Linked DNA regions of Homo sapiens: regions 2 and 3 are each linked to region 1. Evidence: promoter capture Hi-C in human tissues and cell types (Jung and others, 2019). All regions are on one chromosome and are shown on one strand. Each heading gives the region's core, a stretch centred on a gene start or on the middle of the fragment in contact. The rest is flanking DNA. Distances are from core to core; before and after follow the strand shown. Region 1 holds the start of ABHD6 (abhydrolase domain containing 6, acylglycerol lipase). Region 2 overlaps LOC124909386 (a long non-coding RNA gene). Region 3 overlaps ABHD6 (abhydrolase domain containing 6, acylglycerol lipase).

Region 1 (3,027 bases), core at 199-2,698:
AGAAACACAGGTGATTAATTTCTGTTATTTCTAATTTCCTATATTATAACAATGTTCTTGATAAGAATTTGTTGAAATTGGGTAAAAAGTCTAGTGGTTCGAGGTCGGGTTGGGGGGGCGGTTGGGGGAAGGGGGTGGTTCTGAGGCCAGACTCACTTCGTGTCTTGGGAAGGTACCACCTCTGGAAGCCTCATATTCCTGCTCTCAGGAATGGGCACAGCGGTGGTACCTACCTCAAGGGGCTGTTGGGGAAAGTATGGCAGGTAATTCTTTTAAGGGGCTTAGGACAGGGCCTGGCACACAAGATTTGCTTATTCTATGTCAGCTATTATTCATTATAAACTACTTTAAACTCTTAGCCAGGTGGAGCCACTAGGGATTTCTGAGCAGGCGGGAGCAGCGGGGAGGGGGGCGGCGAGATAAATGAGGGCCTCCAGGTCCCAGCTGGAGTAAGACCCCCACTTTATTTCCTCTTCCTAACCACCCAGCTCCTGGGGCATACAAAGGGCTCAAAATACATATTCTCTGCATGCACAGTATCTAGACCCTCTGGCATCCTCCTCTTCCCCCACTCCCCCATGCCTCACTCTGTCACCTGGCCTCGCTGTGGGCTCAGGGGCGCAAACCCTGCACGTGCACTGCCCTGCAGCCGGCGTTACACAATCCGCATTTCTAAGGCAGCCGTGAAACCTGTGTCGCTGTAGGCGGGGGACCGCAAGTTGCCGGCGGGTACCTGGCTGGACAGCATCCTGATTCAAGTGTTTCGACACGGAAGGGGCGCAAGGGCACGGGAGCCGGGGCAGGCTGGGGAAAGGGAAGCTGAAAGGCTGCTGGGGGAGGGGAGTAGCGGAGCGAGATCTTGGGGACGGCGCGGAGGCGGCGCGTGACACGGAGCAAGATGCTATCTGGGTGGGCGAGCTGCAGTCCTTCTCCAGGAAATGGGGGAAACAGGGCTGCAGGACCCCAAAATCCTCTCGGCACTGCGAGGGGCGCCTAAGGGCTGCTGCGGGCGCAGGGGGTGGGGAGGCGAAGTAGAAAGAGGGTGCAGGTCCCGACCCGTCCTCACTCTGTCCCCCGGCTTCAAGAGGCTGGCTGGACCCAGGAAATGGGGCGCCGGGTTTCGGGCATCTCAAACCTATCCAGGCAGCGGGAGGTGGGGGCAGCGCCCGCGCGGGGAGCGGAGTGGAAAGGCAAGTGCAGATCGCCGACTCTTTCCACTCGATGCGCCGCTGCAGGGAGACACTGGGGGAGAGGTCACGGGGCCATCAGGGCGCCCCATCCCCCTAGGAGCGCACCACCGCCCGCCCGCCCGCCTCCGCTCACCTGACCAGCCTCAACCGCCTGGGTCCCGCCGCCGGGCCCGGACCCCGGCCCTCGGTCTCTAGCCCCGGGCTGGGACCTGCCGCCGGGCTCCTACCCGCGCCGCTCCCAGCTCCGGCGCCCAGCCCAGCTGGACTCCTTAAAGGCGCAGCGTGCCGGTTCGCGTCCTCCGACAGAAAAGCCGCCCCGCCCCGACCCGGCGCCGCGCGCTGTCCCCCAGCGGCCGCGCTCTGTTTGGGGGCTCCGGGGCGCTTATCCCCAGTTCCTCCGCGCGCTGCCTCACAGCGTTAAACCCGGAGGGTACAGTTAGCGTCTCGCACAACCCAACGCCGGCAACTGTCTCCTAGCACCCGAAAGCCACGGCGAGAGCAGGATCGCCTACAGAGGTACCGGGGGCGGAGCCCGAGCGCCCGGTCCCGCCCCCGCCCCCGCCCCCGCCCCCGCCCCGCCCCGCCCCGGAACGCACACGGTGGCGGGGCGCGGGGAGGGCCTCTGAGCCCGCAGAGCCACACACAGTTCCACATCCCCGGCCCGAATTCTTCCCGGCACTGTTTCACTTACTGAGCACCTACTGTGTGCCTGGCGCGGCTGGGCATTAAACCCGCCAAAGTGACTCAGGCAGGATCTCTGGATCTCTGCCCCGAAGGGCATCAGAGAGAAAGGGACAGGCAGGGGTTCTCAGGCAGCAAAGCAACACTGCTTGACATCGGTTGTCTCACGTAATCCTATGAGGTAGGCACTGGGGTCGACTTCTTTTCTCAGAAGACACCGAGGCTCAGGGAGGTGAGGGGCTTGCCCTGGATAGTCCAGGAAATGGGAGAAATGGGGGCGCAGGAGCCCCCAAATCCTCTGGACACTGCGAGGGCTCCACCCCAAGGAACACCGTAGGCGCTCATGCTCCCGCCCTGGCTCTCGGGTGTTTGGAGACAGTTGCCGGCGTCGGGTTGTGCGGGACGTCAGACTGTAAGGACTGAACTGGGAATTCCAACCGAGGATCGTCTGACTCCAAAGCTATACGGGAGAAATGGGCACCTGGAAAGGCCTTCGGCCACCTCTGGTTAAACCCCTGCTATGGTCGTTTCTTTCTTTTAGGGACAGTTAAACCCCAGCTTGGCCTGGCTACTCTTCCGTGTTTTCCATGTCTCAGTTTAGCTGCCACTTCCTCCAGGAAGCCTTCAGTAAGACCCCTTTGGGCTCACACTGCACTGTGGGCTTCTTTCATCAAAACATGTATTCGTTCATTTAACAGATATTTACTACACCTGTTAGGGGCCTTAGTGGCACCCAGATCTTCCTGCTGCACTGAGTGCTTGGCCTGCCACTCCAGACGTCAAGGGGCCAGGGCTCAGCAAGACTCTCTTGGCCGTTTAAATCCCCCACAAAGGCAGCCTTTGGGCCTCAGCCTGCCAAGGCCTCCACGCTGGTGGAGCCTGGCTGAGTGGTGCAGGTCCTGGGTTTTAAGAATAGGACACAGTCAAGAAGTCCCGGAGAAGTGGCAAAGGGGCATCTCTGAAGCCACTAGTGATCCCCATGCCTGTAAACCCTGCTCTGCAGGGCAGCTGGAATTCATCCGGAGTTTGGGACAGTCCCCCTGGCTTGGGCTGGAGCATTTTCCTTTAAATTGTTGGCTGCCTTATCACTTAGACTTCAATGGCTGCATGTGATTCACTTCAGGGAATGGCCCCCGAGTTTCAGTGGCAATTTATT
Region 2 (3,027 bases), core at 270-2,769, 53 kb after region 1:
AGACCTGCCCATGAGCATTTTAGTTTTGAAAGAGCTGTATGCAGGGATGTTTATTTGAATTCCCCACCTGCCCGAGGCCTTCTAAGCAATCAGATTCTGTGAGCACCAACATCAGATGGGTCCACGGACAATCATTCGACATGTCTGGGATTCTGCAAGAGAACTGTTTCCGAGAGAAGGAGGGAGGCCCATCAAGATAATATGAGTAACCAAGGTTTAGCTGTCAGAAGGGAGGTGGTATGGAATGAATTGTTCCTCCCAAAAGACTATTTATTTATTTATTTTTGAGACAGAGTCTTGCTCTGTCACCCAGGCTGAAGTGCAGCGGTGCGATCTCGGCTCACCATAACCTCTGCCTCCCAGGTTCAAGCGATTCTCCTGCCTCAGCCTCCCAGGTTCAAGCGATTCGCCTGCCTCAGCTTCCCAGGTTCAAGCGATTCTCCTGCCTCAGCCTCCCAGGTTCAAGCGATTCTCCTGCCTCAGCCTCCCAGGTTCAAGCGATTCTCCTGCCTCAGCCTCCCAGGTTCAAGCGATTCTCCTGCCTCAGCCTCCCAGGTTCAAGCGATTCTCCTGCCTCAGCCTCCCGAGTAGCTGGGATTACAGGCACCCGCCATCACGCCCGGCTAATTTTTGTATTTTTAGTAGAGACAGGGTTTCACCATGTTGGCCAGGATGGTCTCCAACTCCTGACTTCAGGTGATCTGCCCACGTCGGCCTCCCAAAGTGCTGGGATTACAGGCGTGAGCCACTGCGCCTGGCCCAAAAATATTTAAGTTTTTTTTTTTCCAAGTTCTAACTGCCAGTGCCACCTCATTTGGCAATAGGACCACTGCAAATGTAATTCGTTAAGATGAGGACATACTGGAGGCGTGGGCCCCTAATCCAATACGATTGATGCCCTTCTAAGGAGACAGTCATGGGAAGCCAGAGTGACACACAGGTAGACAGCCACGTGACGAGGAACGCAGAGCCTGGAGTGCTGCAGCTGGAAGCTGAGGAAGGCCAAGGATGCTGGTGGCCACCAGAAGCCAGGAAGGGCAAGAAAGTGTTTGTCCCTATAGGTTTCAGAGAAAGCTTGACCCTGCCCACAGCTTGATCTGACTTCCAGCCTCCAAAAATGTGAGATCGCCAATTTCTGTTGTGTTAAGCCACTGAGTTTGGGGTACTTTATTATGGCAACCCTAAGAAACTGATACCGGAAGGAGCTTCGAATTTAGCATGGTGGCTGCACAAGACATGTAGGCCACTGTGGTACCCTTCCTCCTCTTCCTGCTGAGCGCATGGCTCCATGAATCAACCCAGCCCTCTCACATCTAGGAGTCATGTGACTTGTTCTCACCAGTGGAATGGGAGAGGAAGTGACACCGCTTAGCTCCAGGCCAAGGCGGTTCAGAGCAGGTGTATTCTCTCCATGCTCAGTCTCTCTCCCCTTTCCCTGGCTGGATGTAGAGGACTCAGAGGAGGGCTGTGAGGCCCTAGGGGATGGCAGAGCTACCAGGTGGGAGAAGCCTGGGTCCCCGGATCAGCAGGTGGAAGGTCACCTGCCCAACATCAGATTGGACGGCCATGTAGGAAAGACGTCTTTATTGGTTTAAGCAACTGGGACTTAGGGGCTGTTTGTTTTAGCAGTGAGGCAACCCTGACTAACACAGGTTCTGAGGGATGAGAGAAGCGGTAAGCAAAAACGTAAACTACTTCTTCCCTAAACTATGGGGTAAATTGGCACTAAGCAACCCAGCTATGGATCCCTTCAACAGAATGTAGAGAAATAAAAAGCAGGGAGATATTCTCTCCCTTTAGCACCTTAAGGATTTAGCGAGCCCTCTCCTGCGCCGGGTCTGCTGAGGGAGCACTTGGAAACCCCACTGTTTCCCCCCAGGAAAGCAGCCCCCATGTCCACGCCTTGCCAATGACGGCAGGGGCGGAGGCAGCCCTACAAGGAGCTGAGGTCCTTGGAGGCAGACAGCCGGGAGGGAGGGCCACCGATTGGTCCAGACCCCGCCTTAGTCACTCTCATGCCTACCCATGCACAGCAAGGCGGCGGGGGCTCGACAGCTGCAGAGCAAGGGTGAGTCTGGCCGGAGGGTCCAGATGGGCCATAGGCATAGGATAGGAGCAGCTCTGGGGACCTTTCCCCATGTGGACTCACGTGAGCTGGTCTGTTTGCCGTGGGAAATGGCAGATGCCACTTTGGGTGTAAAACACCTTTGTGATGGACTGGACCTTGGCATAAGTTGGAACCTTGATGTGCTTCATAGCGTCCCCTGCAACACAGCAGAGGCTGGGGAGAGTGAGGGTCACCTTCCTCCTGCCACATTTCCCCAACCCACAGGGCCGAGGGCCAGCAGGGACACACTACTATAGCTGCTTCAGTTGTTAAAAAAGTGCAACATTTCTGTACCACCTAGGACCAGCCATGCCTTCCTACCTTAGGACCCTCAGACCCTCCTATGACCTCATAACCAAAGGGTAATGCCTGACATCGCACGGAGACCTTGACACCCCACCTTGGCAGCACCACCAGGATCTGTCCTGATAGGGGGGCAATTCCAATTAACTATTCTGACTCTACCCCACCCCAAGCTCACTTACCCCACATCCCATTTCTCCTGTTGTCCCTGGATACCCCACCCATACCAGTGCTCCACAGGAGGCACGTGGGGGCTACTCAAGGCTGAACTAGCTCCCCACATGCCCATAGGCTGCAAATCCTGCCTGTTGAGTCACCACCACCACCAACTACAGTGCTAATAATACCAGCTACCATTTGTTTGAACACTTACTTCATGCCAGGCCCTAGACTGTGCTTTACATGTGTAAAAGGGCATTTTTGGCTGACCTAGCTGGGGTCCAGATTATGCCTTTAACCCCTCTTCCCTGTGTCTTTTTGCAGCCACTGGAATGTCACTGCCCCTGTTTGTAACTGTGGTGGGGAAAGGGAAGTGGTCAATAGTAAGTCTCTCATCAGGCGCAGTGGCTCACACCTGTAATCCCAACACTTTGGGAGGCCAAGGATCTCCTGAGGTC
Region 3 (3,027 bases), core at 289-2,788, 51 kb before region 1:
CCCCCTACCCGGCCAGCCGCCCTGTCCGGGTGGTGAGGGGCGCCTCTGCCTGGCCGCCCCTACTGGGAAGTGAGGAGCCCCTCTGCCCAGCCACCACCCCGTCTGGGAGGTGTGCCCAACAGCTCATTGAGAATAGGCCATGATGACAATGGTGGTTTTGTGGAATAGAAAGGGGGGAAAGGTGGGGAAAAGATTGAGAAATCGGATGGTTGCCGTGTCTGTGTAGAAAGAGGTAGACATGGGAGACTTTTCATTTTGTTCTGTACTAAGAAAGATTCTTCTGCCTTGGGATCCTGTTGATCTGTGACCTTACCCCGCAACCCTGTGCTCTCTGAAACATGTGCTGTGTCCACTCAGGGTTAAATGGATTAAGGGCAGTGCAAGATGTGCTTTGTTAAACAGATGCCTGAAGGCAGCATGCTCGTTAAGAGTCATCACCACTCCCTAATCTCAAGTACCCAGGGACACAAACACTGCGGAAGGCCTCAGGGTCCTCTGCCTAGGAAAACCAGAGACCTTTGTTCACTTGTTTATCTGGTGACCTTCCCTCCACTATTGTCCTATGACCCTGCCAAATCCCCCTCTGTGAGAAACACCCAAGAATGATCAATAAAAAAAATAAAAAAATAAAAAAAATAAAAAATTACCCGGGTGTGGTGGCACATGCCTGTAGTCCCAGCTGCCTGGGAGGCTGAGGTGGGAGCATTGCTTGAGCTCAGGAGGTTGAGGCTGCAGTGAGCTATGATTGAGCCACTGCATTCTAGCCTGGGTGACAGAGCAAGAACCAGTCTCAGAACAAACAAACAAACAACCCCCCTGCCCAACAAAAAACAAAAATCAAAACCTTTTCCTGCATTGCTTCACACCAGGGCTAAAACTATGGTGAGGCAAATGAGGCATTTGCCTAAGGCACAAAATTTAAGTGCCAAAAAACTCATAAATTAAGAGAAAATATTTTAGTGCAGTATGTTAAAAAAAACATTAATGGAAAAAGGCACATGATGAACAAAATATCAAAATCATAAATACAGACAGGATCTGACCCTGCACCTGCATGACACATCTCTCTCATCTCACCCTTGTCTCGGGCCTGTTATGCACTATAAGGGTAGGTAGACGATAAATTGCTGGAGGGCAGGGATCCTGGCTGTCTTGGTCCCTACTGTATCCTCAGGGCCTAATACAGTGTTAGGCACATACTAGGTGCTCAATAAATGCCTGTTAACTGGCTTAAATGTGTAGTCAGTCAGTGGGTTTATCCCTTCACTAGTTGGTTTGTTCACTCAATTTCTCACTTGTTTGCTCACTCACTGTGTACTCTGGGTCTCCTGCATACCAGGCACGGTGCTGGCAGGGAGAAGGGACATAAAGAATAATAGCCTGTCTGTCTCTAGATGGCCCTCCCATTTTGATGGACTGAACATAGAGGAGCGATGCTTGAAATGAAGCATGCAGAAACCCTCTCAGGAAGGGCTGCCATGTTTGGGTGTACAGGTTGTATACAGACCAAATCCATCATTCACAAAAATGACAATGCACATGGCTCCCCCTGCAGCTGTGCAGTATAGCAGTCAGCCTACAGGGGTCCAAAGAAGAAGGAAGCTGAATTTGGCCTGGTAGGGGCAGGTGCTGTGACACCAAATGTTGATGACAGAGCAGGAAAAGAGCCAGCGAGCTTGGGAGGCAAAAGGCTGTGAAATAAAAGACTCCCTGAAGCCTCTGCTATTTGGCCTCTGTCCCAGGGACAGTCCACAAAACACATGAAGGATCTGATCACATTTATAGCAAGCCCATAGAATGTTAGGCTCTTTTTCTGGAATGAAACGGACTTCTGAGTCTGGGAAAAAAATTTGGACCATGCATTGAAGCCACCAACAGAGGCAAAGGACATGAGCAGTCTAATCTAATACCAGCTAACCTAACTTTTTTGCAACTGGAAGATCATTTTCATACATATTATTTCATTTGAGCCTCAAAATAACCCTGGTACTAGAAGTTTCAGAAACCCTTAATTTAGAGGGGCTGAGTTACTTGCTCAAGGTCATGCATGGGCTGACCAAGGACAAAAGTAGGGCTGGAACATAGACTTTCAGAATCCAAGGCCAGTGCCCTTGCTTCTGCGCTGTCTCCACAGGAAGATGGGTTACAGCCTCTCCCTGTTGGCTCCTGAGAGCCCCAAATCACCTTTGGGGTTTTTAGAACAACAGAAGGCCTTCGCTGCTCAGGCTCTGATTCCTGATCAAATGACTCTCTGCTGGCATAGCCCAGGGCACAAACAAAGCTTCTTTCAGTCCCTTGGCGCTGCAGAAGAGAGCACATGAGATCCCCTTCTCTCCACGTCCACAAAACCATGCTGTGAATCCTCACCATGCCTGGCTCATCTAAGACACCATTGCCTCTTATTCTGCGTACACGCCATGGGCACAGCCTGGCTGCTCCTCCCCACTCTCTCCTGCCTGGGTCATTCATGCACTTGTGGGTCTTTGTGGCCACAGTGTGACCTCCTGCCAGTTAAAAATTGATGCATTTAGGTAAAGGGTATGCAGGTATACTCTGTATTCTTTTTTATTTTTATTTTTTTGAGATAGGATCCCGCCCTGTGGCCCAGGCTGGTGTGCAGTGAAGCAATCACGGCTCACTGCCACCTCCATGTCCTGGACTCAAGTGATCCTCCTGCCTCACCCTCCAGAGTAGCTGGGACTACAGATGCATACCACCATGCTTGGCTACTTTTTTAAAAATTTATTTTTTATAGAGATGGGATCTCACTATGCTGCCCAGGTTGGTCTCAAACTCCTGGGCTCAAGCAATCCTCCTGCCTTAGCCTCCCAAAGTGCTGGCATTATAGGCGTAAGCCACCATGCCTGGCCTTCTTTCAAATTTTCTGTAAGTTTGAAATTATTTCAAGATAAAATTTTTTTAAGAATAGAAGGAATAGATTTGTTTGGGCTGATATAAAATGATTTCCAAGATACCTACTTATATATACATATACATATATATATATATATACACACACACACACAC

What was found. The method cuts DNA at HindIII sites, captures the fragments that hold promoters and counts their contacts. A contact is called where the count stands out against the background at its distance.
Region 2: a contact is called between a fragment that was not itself captured here and the fragment with the promoter of ABHD6 in region 1, in 1 of the 25 tissues and cell types used here (liver).
Region 3: a contact is called between a fragment that was not itself captured here and the fragment with the promoter of ABHD6 in region 1, in 4 of the 25 tissues and cell types used here (dorsolateral prefrontal cortex, hippocampus, ovary and 1 more).

The regions. Positions count from the first base shown.
Region 1 is chr3:58,236,213-58,239,239 of GRCh38, reverse strand. ABHD6 (abhydrolase domain containing 6, acylglycerol lipase) reads right to left here and starts at 1,448. Exons shown (of 10, transcript NM_001320126.2): 1 at 1,324-1,448. RefSeq lists silencers at 1,207-1,696, 1,707-1,876 and an enhancer at 1,098-2,037. The HindIII fragment of the contact is 20,801 bases long and covers 1-3,027 here.
Region 2 is chr3:58,183,109-58,186,135 of GRCh38, reverse strand. It overlaps LOC124909386 (a long non-coding RNA gene), which reads right to left. Exons shown (of 2, transcript XR_007095929.1): 1 at 68-3,027. Among named protein-coding and RNA genes, the nearest start is that of FLNB-AS1, 14 kb to the right of the region's middle. The HindIII fragment of the contact is 6,139 bases long and covers 1-3,027 here.
Region 3 is chr3:58,286,838-58,289,864 of GRCh38, reverse strand. The region is part of intron 9 of ABHD6 (abhydrolase domain containing 6, acylglycerol lipase); the gene reads right to left. Among named protein-coding and RNA genes, the nearest start is that of RPP14, 18 kb to the left of the region's middle. The HindIII fragment of the contact is 4,978 bases long and covers 1-3,027 here.